4 separate regions of the Homo sapiens genome follow, and all the other regions are linked to region 3. Evidence: promoter capture Hi-C in 16 types of primary human blood cells and fetal thymus (Javierre and others, 2016). All regions are on one chromosome and are shown on one strand. The core of a region is centred on a gene start or on the middle of the fragment in contact, and the rest is flanking DNA. Distances in the headings are between cores, read along the strand shown.

Evidence for each region. The method cuts DNA at HindIII sites, captures the fragments that hold promoters and counts their contacts. A CHiCAGO score of 5 or more calls a contact.
Region 1: a fragment that was not itself captured here is called in contact with the fragment with the promoter of HMX2 in region 3 in 5 of 17 cell types (neutrophils, activated CD4 T cells, fetal thymus and 2 more); the score reaches 16.2 in neutrophils.
Region 2: the fragment with the promoter of ABRAXAS2 here is called in contact with the fragment with the promoter of HMX2 in region 3 in 1 of 17 cell types (neutrophils); the score reaches 5.6 in neutrophils.
Region 4: a contact is called between a fragment that was not itself captured here and the fragment with the promoter of HMX2 in region 3, in 1 of 17 cell types (activated CD4 T cells). The highest score is 6.3, in activated CD4 T cells.

Annotation. Positions count from the first base shown.
Region 1 is chr10:124,458,872-124,461,571 of GRCh38, forward strand. No RefSeq gene overlaps it. Among named protein-coding and RNA genes, the nearest start is that of LHPP, 1.6 kb to the right of the region's middle. The HindIII fragment of the contact is 2,693 bases long and covers 105-2,700 here.
Region 2 is chr10:124,800,369-124,803,068 of GRCh38, forward strand. It overlaps ABRAXAS2 (abraxas 2, BRISC complex subunit), which reads left to right and starts at 1,451. Exons shown (of 9, transcript NM_032182.4): 1 at 1,451-1,533. The coding sequence starts at 1,462. RefSeq lists enhancers at 1,050-1,604, 1,277-1,546, 1,605-2,158 and a silencer at 1,647-1,726. The HindIII fragment of the contact is 5,454 bases long and covers 895-2,700 here.
Region 3 is chr10:123,146,703-123,149,402 of GRCh38, forward strand. It overlaps HMX2 (H6 family homeobox 2), which reads left to right and starts at 1,434. Exons shown (of 2, transcript NM_005519.2): 1 at 1,434-1,944. The coding sequence starts at 1,677. RefSeq lists silencers at 1,304-1,623, 2,014-2,143. The HindIII fragment of the contact is 9,748 bases long and covers 145-2,700 here.
Region 4 is chr10:121,922,572-121,925,395 of GRCh38, forward strand. It overlaps ATE1 (arginyltransferase 1), which reads right to left. Exons shown (of 12, transcript NM_001001976.3): 2 at 1,695-1,758. Among named protein-coding and RNA genes, the nearest start is that of ATE1, 4.0 kb to the right of the region's middle. The HindIII fragment of the contact is 223 bases long and covers 1,464-1,686 here.

The sequences.
Region 1 (2,700 bases), core at 201-2,700, 1.3 Mb after region 3:
TCAGTGGTGTATGCTTCCTGGCACACTATGGTGTTCATGTGCCACCTGGCTAGCTCTGGCCCAAAAGATGCAAATGAGAGTCCATTGGATCAGGGTTCTGGGAAAGCTTTTGCTTTCTGGGTATAAAGGGTCAGACTCAGCTGTCACATGCCCTTTTTTCTTTTCTTTCCCCTCCTTCCTGCCTGAAATGCAGTCATGATGCCTCGGGTGGAGCAGGAATCTTGCTAGCGTGAGGAGCAGGCCACATGCTGAGAGAGTGGTGGAGCAGAAAGCAGGAGGCAGCCTGATGGTCCTGGGAGCTGTTGTCCCATCCAGGATTTCCTCCCTCTTGGCTTCTTGATATATGAGGAAAAGTAAAATCTGATTTGGTTGGGCAACTATGGCTGGGTTTCTGTTACATGTAGCCAAATGCAACCCTAACATAGACAATGCCCTACACTCATTGCATCCCAAGAAAAGCCTGGAATTTTCAGATCAAGTTTTAGCCTATCAGTGGCCCACACTTAGAGACTTGCCACATTTTTCAGGTGAGGGACCTGGATCCCTGTATTTGTTTCTTGTCACTACTGCAAGAAATTACCATATACTTAGTGGCTTAAAACAACAGATTTATTATTATAGTTCTGGAGGTAAGAAGTCCTAAACTTGAAGTACCAGCAGGGCTGCATTCCTTCTGGAGGCTCTAGGGGAGAATCCAATTCTTTGCCTTTTTTAGCTTCCAGAGGCCACCTGCATTTCTTGGCTCATGGCCCCTTTGTATTCAAGGCCAGTAGCACGGTATCTTCACACCTCTCTCTCTGACCTCTGCTTCTGCTGTCACACCTCCTTCTCTGACTCTGACTCTCTCCTGCTTCCCTCTTTCCCTTATGAGGACTCATGTCATTATACTGGGCCCACCTGGACCATCCAGGATAATCTCCCTACAGGAGCATAGGCTCTGCAAGATCTAAGTCCCTTTTGCCATGTCAGGTAATATATTTAGAGGTTGTGGGGATTGGGAGGTGGACATCTCAAGGGGGCACTATTCTGTCTACTGTAGTCGTAGAAATGAAAAGGGACTTGCCCAAGAGTACCCACAGAGCTGACTGAAAAGAAACAACTATGGGTAGGCTCACACCACTGGCAGAAGCACCCCTTTTCCTCCTCCTTGGCATGAAGCTAAAGCCCAGCCATTCTCCAAGGTCCATTTCAGGCTGCCCCTGCCCAGAAGCCACAGCTGCCCTCCTAGGCCTGCAGAGGTCATCCTCTTGACTGTGTCTGTGTCACTCATTGCCACTTGGCACACATTTGGTCAGCAGTCGTGAAGGTCTTCCATTGTTCTCTGCCCAGTCTTGATCCTGGAAGGCAAGGATCACACCCTAGAACTTTTTTGTGCCCACTGCACAGAGTAGGGTCTCAATACGTGTACGGTTCATGATGTTCCTAGCAGATTCTCCAAACTGACTCACTCAGCCCCTGGAACACTAAAAACTGCATTTCCCAGACTCCTTTGCAGCGTGGGCTAGGTTCCACCAAGCCAGACACAGTGAAAGTGAGTGGGTGGCCACAGGTGGAGGGCACAGTGGTGGATATGTTTTGTTCTTTTGGGGGCAGCTATGCTGGGGGCTGCACTAAGTGATGGGGCAGTGGTCCCAATGGAGTAGTAAAATTAAGTGTTTCTCGTGGCTGCATGGCTCCTGGCTGTGTAGGACTTAGACCCGTCATCTGTAAGCTCCTTCACCTCATGTAAACAAAACCCCTCTAGCTGGAGTGGTGTCTATTGTCTGCGACTAAGAACCCTTATATAAGGTATACTACTCCCCAACCCCATTAGTGGAAATCCCAAAGGGTAGGAACTGTATTTTATTTCACTTGTAAACAGCTCCCCTAGTAAGCATGTCAACAAAATATACACAATTCATTGAACCCCATAACATTTCAACGAATTCCTCATCCTTTCTGTGAATCAAGAGCCTGAAAAGAAATGGTGAAATAATATGATCCTCTCTTCTTTGAAAGCTCAAAGCTATGTTGGACCAGAAGTAAAGTGTTCTCGTTTCTATTTAATAACTTGAAAGGTTCCGAGGGGCCATTGAGGAAACTCCTCCCTTTTAATATCAATGTGTATTTATTGCAAAAATAATGTAGCATCGAGTGGTATTTTATAGCTTATCCAAAAACCTCCTGGGTTTAACGCATTGTGATAGTCCCGTTTTCTTCTCAGCCCAGGTCCTATGCATCCTCATCTATGCAGGGCTGTTATCTGCATATAATTTTTTTTTTTTTTAAGACAAAGTCTTGCTCTGTCGCCCCGGCTGGAGTGCAGTGGTGCAATCTCGGCTCACTGCAACCTCCGCCTCCCAGGTTCAAGCGGTTCTTCCGCCTCAGCCTACCGAGTAGCTGGGACTACAGGCATGCGCCACCACACCTAGGTGATTTTTGTATTTTTAGTAGAGACAGGGGTTTCACCATGTTGACCAGGCTGGTCTCGAACTCCTGATCTCAAGCGATCCACCCGCCTCAGCCTCCCAAAGTGCTGGGATTACAGGCATAAGCCACTACGCCCGGCCTCAATTTTGTATTGTACTTTTTCTTTCTTTCTTTAATAGAGACAGGGTCTCACTATGTTGACTAGGTTGGTCTAGAACTCCTGGGCACAAGCTGTCCGCCCGCTTCTGCCTCCCAAAGTGCTGGGATTGCAGGCGTGAACCACCGCCCCTG
Region 2 (2,700 bases), core at 201-2,700, 1.7 Mb after region 3:
TGGGCAGAGGGGAGTGGGCAGGGTCTCACCATGTTGGCCAGGCTGGTCTTGAACTCCTTGTCAGGCCTCTGAGCCCAAGCTAAGCCATCATATCCCCTGTGGCCTGCACGTATACATCCAGATGGCCTGAAGTAACTGAAGAATCACAAAAGAAGTGAAAATGACCGGTTCCTGCCTTAACTGATGACATTACCTTGTGAAATTCCTTCTCCTGGCTTAGAAGCTCCCCGACTGAGCACCTTGTAACCCCCGCCCCTTCCCACCAGAGAACAACCCCCTTTGACTGTAATTTTCCACTACCTACCCAAATCCTATAAATCGGCCCCACCCCTATCTCCCTTGCTGACTCTCTTTTCGGACTCAGCCCGCCTGCACCCAGTTGAAATAAACAGCCTTGTTGCTCACACAAAGCCTGTTTGGTGGTCTCTTCACACAAACGCGCATAACACTCCTGACCTCAGGTTAACACTCCCCACACACGCCCCCCCCTCCCAAAGTGCTGGGATTACAGGCATGAGCCACCGCGCCCGGCCTCAAATGTTGGCTTTTTGTTTTGTTTTGTTTTTGAGACGGAGTCTTGGTCTGTCACCCAGGCTGGAGTGCAGTGGCGCGATCTCGGCTCACTGCAAGCTCCGCCTTCCAGGTTCACGCCATTCTCCTGCCTCAGCCTCCTGAGTAGCTGGGACTACAGGAGCCCGCCACCACGTCCGGCTAATTTTTTGTATTTTTAGTAGAGACGGGGTTTCACCGTGTAAGCCAGGATGGTCTCAAACTCCTGACCTCGTGATCCGCCCACCTCGGCCTCCCAAAGTGCTGGGATTACAGGCGCGAGCCACCACGCTCAGCCTAAATGTTGGCCTTTTTTTTTTTTTTTTTTTTTTTTTTTTGAGACGAAGCTTCGCTCTTGCTGCCCAGGCTGGAGTGCAATGGCACGATCTCGACTCACCGCAACCTCCGCCTCCCGGGTTCAAGCCATTCCCCTCCCTCAGCCTCCCGAGTAGCTGAGATTACAGGCATGTGCCACCACGCCCGGCTAGTTTTTGTATTTTCAATATAGACAGGGTTTCTCCATGTTGGTCAGGCTGGTCTCGAACTCCTGACCTCAGGTGATCCGCCCGCCTCGGCCTCCCAAAGTGCTGGGATTACAGGCGTGAGCCACTGCGCCCGGCTAGAATGTTGTCTTTTAATACTAAGGTTTCACTTGCAAAGGGAAAGAACTGTTTGCGGAACTATCAACCGCTGTCTGAGGCGTGTCGGGAGCGACACCCCTGCGGAGGATACGGTGCCGGGGTCCTTCCGATCGCAAAAACCGGCGTTCCTCAGCCTTCAAGACTGTGAGCGCTCAGGGCCCTCGGCCGCTGCCCGCCGCAGACTCCACTTCCCATGATGCCAAGGGGTCGGGCCGTCCGGAAGGCCGTGTGCCCTCCGCGGGGCATGATGGGGTAGCTGGAGATTTCCATCATGGCGGCGTCCATTTCGGGCTACACCTTCAGTGCTGTGTGTTTCCACAGCGCCAACAGCAACGCGGACCACGTAGGTGCCGGGCCCCCTGCCGCGCCCGCTGGGGGCTTTCAGCCTCTGTCTCAGGCCGGCGCTCGCGGCCAAGCCGGGACCTCATGCGGCTCGCCCCCTGGGCACCAGGGCCGGCCGGAGGAGCTGGTGACCCGGGCGGCTCCCGCCCCCGGTGAGCTCTTGCCTCTGGGGGCTCCTTCGCCCCTGGGACAGGCCCCCTGGCTTCGCGCTCTCAGCCGCTCGGCCGTCCCGGCACAGCCGTCTCCCGTGCAGCAAAACTGTCCCACCTGGCCTCCTGCAGTGTCAGGAGTCGCTCGGTGGAAACCGAGCGCCTGCCCCTCCCTGAAAGTCAGGCTTCTAGACTTAAGAGGGGCGCACGGGGTCGGGAAGGAATCTAAAGGCCGGGCGTTTAGTCCAGTAGGCGAGGTACTCAGCCCCGCCCGCCGGTCTCGCAGGTTGTCGTGGGGGTGCTGCGAGTGAAACCGTGGCTGTCACTACTGATACTTGTTAGACACGGTTGTGTGTTTTCTTCGCCCTGATGCAAAATGGAGAATGTATACAGGAGCGTTCGGTGCAGGGTCTATTTTGTATTTCCTTGAAGTTGCGTGTTTAGTTCTTTGTGACTAGTTCTTTCACTAGTCACAGTGAAATAGGGAAGTGACAGGCCCACTACTGAGTGATGGGAAATGCATAGGCTGTGAGCCCACAGGAGGAGCAGATCCTGTCTGTTTCAGTGTCTTTATTTTACAAATTGTCTTTTAACGTCATTGGCCTCTGATTGGAAATGCTTTGTGAAACTAGATCACTTCTCTCTTAAAGGAGGTATATAATTTGGCCACCAAATTGGGGGATTATTTTAAGTGATGTTAATAGTGAATGATTCAAACTCATTAAACCTATGTGTGGGGTTTTTGGTTGTCATTACAAAGCAAAATGGTACACTGCAGAAGGAGGAACTGCATTTGGTTTGATGTCAGCAATCTTAGCTTCCATTAATAAAAACTGATTTCACAGGGAGGTGATTCCATTAGTAAATTGAATGCAATTAAATTATTGTACCTTTCATCTCTTCAGTGTTGATGGTAGAACTTAATGATAGGAATAGGAATATATACATCATGGGTTTTTCCAGAAGCAGCTTTGAAGACTATGGCCTAGGGTACTACAACCAGCTATTTAATAATGTAA
Region 3 (2,700 bases), core at 184-2,683:
TCTCCACTCACCCTTGGCTGCACTTGGGGGGCACCCTAAAGACAGGGCTTCTGGAATCTCTTGGCCAAGAGGTCTAGAGGTCACAGCTTGAGGGGACGGGGTTGCCTGAGCACTTCGGGCCTTGCCTCACTTCAGTTTCCAGGAAGCTTGTGCAGACGACTGTGGCCCCAAACCGCTTTGCTTGGCTGGGCTAATTCTAGCTCGGGTAACAGCTGATCTAGGAATTAAAGGGGCGAGAGCCAGGGCACAGAAGGGGGCTATGAGAACACAGAGGGAATCACTATTTACTGAGCACCACGGTGTGCCAGGCTCGGTGCTGGGTAGTTTGACCTCACAACAGCCTCTGCGAGGGAGGCACTGCTTCCTCCAATTTTAGGAATAAAGAAACCGAGCCTCAGAATTTCCAAATGTCTTCCCCCAAGATCACCCAGCCGAGAATTGAGTCGAGTCTGCTCAATTCTAAAACCGAGTCCTGTCACCAGTTCCTTATCTTCTTCCTGGGAGTAAGGCGTCTATTTCTGCAGCAGTTCGGAAACCTTCAAAATTTACAAAACAAAAACACAGATTCGCTTAAAACACGGGTGGGCCATGGGCTACCCGGCCAGGTTTATGGAGTACCTACTATGCGCTGCTAGTGCTTCGAGGCTTTTAATCCCTACCTGAGGCAATCCGAGAAGTTATTTTCAACTATGAGGGCAGAGAGGCTTTAATCGGCATGAGTTGTGCAAGTTCATGCAGTGTGTAAATAGTTGTGCCGGAATTTGAACCCAGATCTCTTGACTAGAGGTCTTAGGGCTTCCTCCCTCCCCCTAAAGATTCTGTAGGTCCGTAGAACCTGTGACAGGGATGAGGTCTGCAGACGGGGAAGGGGAATGTCTGCTCCCAAGGCTCCTGGCCATGCTGGAGAGGATGAGCGTCCGCCTGGAGACGCCTGCTCCTAACCCACCTCACCCCCACGCAGGGCGCCACGGTCCCAGGAGTGCCGGCTTTGCCCGCCCACTGGGGCTAGAAGGGGTGGAGGGCTGGGGGAGGATGGTGGAGCAGCCTGTACAAGCCCCTGGGAGGCGCGGAGACCCGTCGCCTGCGGAGGCGTCGAGCCACTCCAGCTCCGAGTCCCGCACCGCCCCTGCCTCTGGAGAGAAGGGTCCAAGGGGTCCAAGGAGTCGGAGTTGCCGCAGCCGCCAGGAACCCGGGCTAGAATCTGCAGCTGCTTTCAGCCCTGGCTGCCCCTGGTTAGACGCCGCTGATGCCCGCCAGGCCCTCGGCGCGCTCTGGGGGCGCACCGGTGCTGTGTGCCTGGCCGGAGCGTTTTGAAATTTTCCGGGGCCGCTCGGCGGCGCTGCGATTGGCCGCGTTCGGGTAACCTCTATGCAAATGAGGCCGCGCCGCCTCCGCGCCGCCGGAGACCCGGCGAGTTGGCGGGCGAGGAAGGGGCATTTGCACCGGGGCTGGGCGGGCGCACCCAGAGCCAGGCGGGCAGGAACCCCTGCGCAGCCATCCGGTGCCTGCATGTCCCTGGCGCGGAAGGGACGCCTCACCAGCCTCGGCGCCCCCTCCCCCTAGATTTCCTCCCCGCCCCTCCCCACTGCCTGCCTGCTGCACCACCTTCCACCCAGATCACCCAGATCGTCTCTAAAGGGAGTTCTTGGTTTCCTTCGATTTCTTATGAACCCAGGATGGGCAGCAAAGAAGATGCGGGCAAGGGGTGTCCGGCGGCCGGTGGCGTCTCCAGCTTCACCATCCAGTCCATCCTGGGCGGGGGCCCCTCGGAGGCACCGCGGGAGCCCGTCGGCTGGCCAGCCAGGAAGCGCAGCCTGTCCGTGTCCTCGGAGGAGGAGGAGCCGGACGACGGCTGGAAGGCGCCCGCCTGCTTCTGCCCAGACCAGCACGGCCCTAAGGAGCAGGGCCCCAAGCACCATCCCCCCATCCCTTTTCCTTGCCTGGGTAAGGATCGCACGTCGCCAGTGTGGCAGCGAGCGAGCGCGAGGGGAGGGAGGCTGAGCGCCCCGCCAAGACTCCCGCGCCGGGCCCCCTCTGGCCAGAGCTGCGGCAGCCGGGGGTTCGGGACCGCGGGGAGAGGGGCGCGCACTGTGGTGCCTCCTCCGCCCGGTGGGCCCCTGGGAGCAGGCGAACACAGACCCGTGCCGGCTTGGGCTTCCTGGGGAAGGTTGAGTTGTTGAGAGAGTGGACCACAGCGAGAGGGACACGCGGCCGGCCTTACACCCGGCTGTCCTCAATCACTGCACATCTGGTACTTTCTTTCCGGACACGAGGTGGAGATCTGCAAGTCGGGTCTGGGCAGTCTGTCTCCACCGTAATCTCTTTCTGAGTCTTCTTCCTCACTCGCTCCGTATCTCTGCCTTTCTCTCTCTCTCCTCCTTGGAATGATTAGCACTCCAAGATGATTGACAATGGTGCATTTCAGAGACGGTTCCTCTTTACAACATTTGACGAAGGGGAGTCCTGCGTTAGTCCTTAGCGTGATTTCCAAACAAACGGCCTGTGAAATGATGCCACCCTATAAAGCTCGAGGAACTCTTCCAGCTCAATTACCACCAAGCAAATTCGCCTTTTAAAACCATGCTAATGTTTCCCCCTCCAGACCTCCTCTCCCTGTTGCCCCTGGCCCATTCATAAAGGTGGGAGCACAGAGACCCCATACTCCAAGTAGCTGGGTCCCTCTCTTGTCGCTTTTAAAGG
Region 4 (2,824 bases), core at 325-2,824, 1.2 Mb before region 3:
CGTGTAGCAAAGTTTAGAACCCTGCCTTTTATTTCCTAAAGCTTTACTTGTGTACCCCACGGCCAATCATCTCAGTTCCCCTCTCACCAGCATCTGCCACCCCTGCTCTGCCTTCACCTGCCACCAATCCCCAATACCACAAGGGCAATGAGAGAAATGCCCACGATGCTGTGGGACTCATGTATGTGATGCCTGTGACAACCACACTTGGGTATTCCACATGCACCAGCACGGAGTACCCCAAAACTAACCCGCTTCTTTCCATGCATTCCAGGTCTATGGTACTAACAGAACTGTTCATTCTGTTCTCAAGTCAGAGACCTGGGAGTCATTTTAAACTCCTCCCTGGAATTCACCTCTATATCCTATTAGCAAGCTTTCCTTCATTTTAAACCCTATCCTAAATTGTCCCCTCTTCTCTATCACCATTGCCACTAAGGTGACAGTCCTCATCATCGCACATCTGGATAGCGCAATAACCTTTGAACTCATCTTCCTGCCTCTATGACCCCCCCTCAAATACCTCTCAGCCATCTGAACAATCTTTTCTAAAACAAATTCCTTCACATTTCTCTCTTACCATAAAATCCTTCCATGACTGCCTTCTAAAAAGTTCTGGCCAGGCATGGTGGTTCATACCTATAATCCCAACACTTTGAAAAGCTAAGCTGGAAGAACACTTGCAACCAGATGTTCGAGACCAGCACGGGCAACATAGCCAAGATCTTACAAAAAACTGAAAAATTAGCCAGGTGTTGTGATGCACACCTGTAGTCCTAGCCACTGCAGAGGCTGAGGCAAGAGGATCACTTGAGTGTGGGAATTTGGGGTTACAGTGAGCTATGATGATGGCACTGTACTCTAGCCTGGGCAAGAGAGCGACTCTAGCCTGGGCAACAGAGCGAGACCATGTCTCTAAAAAAAAAAGTTCCTTATCATGGCATGTGAAGTCCTTTAAAATCTGACCTATGTCTACCTTTTGAATCTCATTAAGTTTAAGGAAAGTTGTGATATTTCAGCTGGTGCTCCCAATCCCACGTCTTTGGCAAGTATTAGCGTACAGTATTTAATATTACTTATATTTACACAAGGAACTTTACCTAAGAGTTACTTAAAAATCATCCACATAAAAATAACTACTCAAAACAGGCCATGTGTGGACTTTAAGGAAATCCTTATCCAAATAAACTGTTAAAGAAGACATTTTTGAGACAATCTGGAAAATCTAATAAAAAGTAGGTAACAGGTAACATCAAAGAATTTTTATTAATTTTGTAAGGTGTGATACAGCATTGTGGATAAGTTAAAAAGAAAAAAAGACCTCTCTCTTAGAGATACATACTTATTGCCTATCTATTGATAGGATAAATGTCATAATAACCTACTGATGTAATTTGCTGTTAAATATTAAAAGGTGGAGCAGGAGAATCAAACATGATTGGCAGAACGTTAATAACTGCTGAAGCTTAGTGATAGGTACTTGAGGTTCATTCTAATGTACTCTCTGCTTTTATAGATATTTGACATTTTCCTAACAAAGTTTTTTAAAAAGGAGACAAAAAATCACTACATAAAAGAATATAATAAAAATTTTTCTTAAACCTCTTTCCAACAGGAAAGCATTTCAAAGGCATGCTGTATTTTTCAAGAACCTGAGTAACAGTAGGAAGTCTCTTTGTATCTGGAAGCTTTACCTTCGCCATCCTCGGTCTATGAGATCCTGATAATCCTGTACTGTCATGGAATGTGCCCACATGCCTGAAAAAATAAGTAGTGTGTTAATTACGGCAGGGTAACCTTTTTTCTTTTTTAAATTCAAAGTGTGAGGTTTAAAAATAGGAGTGTGTGTCCGGGCACGGTGGCTCATGCCTGTAATCCCAGCACTCTGGGAGGCCAAGGCGGGCAAATCACAAGGTCAGGAGTTCAAGACCAGCCTGGCCAACATGGTGAAACCCCATCTCTACTAAAAATACAAAAATTTAGCTGGGCATAGTGGCGGGCGCCTGTAATCCCAGCTACTCAAGAGGCTGCAGCAGGAGAATCACATGAACTCGGGAGGCGGAGGTTGCAGTGAGCCAAGATCACGCCACTGCACTCCAGCCCTGGCGACAGAGTGAGACTCCATCTCAAAAAAAAAAAAAAAAATAGGAGTGTTTAGGTTAAAATTCCAAAACACTCATATTGGATAAATGAAAAGTTTGTACATACTTCACAGCTGTTAGTTGGGCATACACACAGCACAAATAAAGAATGACACTATATATATTTTCATTCAAAAAAACACATCGAAGTTAATTATATTTATTTGAGGATTAGTCAATAGTCTCTATGACAGCATAAATTTAAGTCCTCACTGCAATCAGACTGCATCAGACCTTCAAACTTTAATAAATATCCCCAATGATTTAACATGCTGGTCTCTTCAGAAAACTTAGCAAAATGTTTTGTGCTTATTAGTTCTCCTGATTTATATACAGGTATATATTTACAGTACAGTCTTGAGCATCAAAAATTGGAGAAAAGTATGTAACAATATTCCTTCTAAGTGTAAGAACTGAAAGTAACTCAGCTGGGCACAGTGGCTCACGCCTGTAATCCCAGCACTTTTGGAGGCCAAGATGGGCAGATCATCTGAGGTCAGGAGTTTGAGACCAGCCTGGCCAACATGGTGAAACCCCATCTCTACTAAAAACACAAAATTAGCCGGGAATGGTGGCACATGCCTGTAATCCCAGCTACTTGGGAGGCTGAGGCAGGAGAATCGCTTGAACCCAGGAGGCGGAGGTTGCAGTGACTCGAGATCGAGCCATTGCACTCCACACTC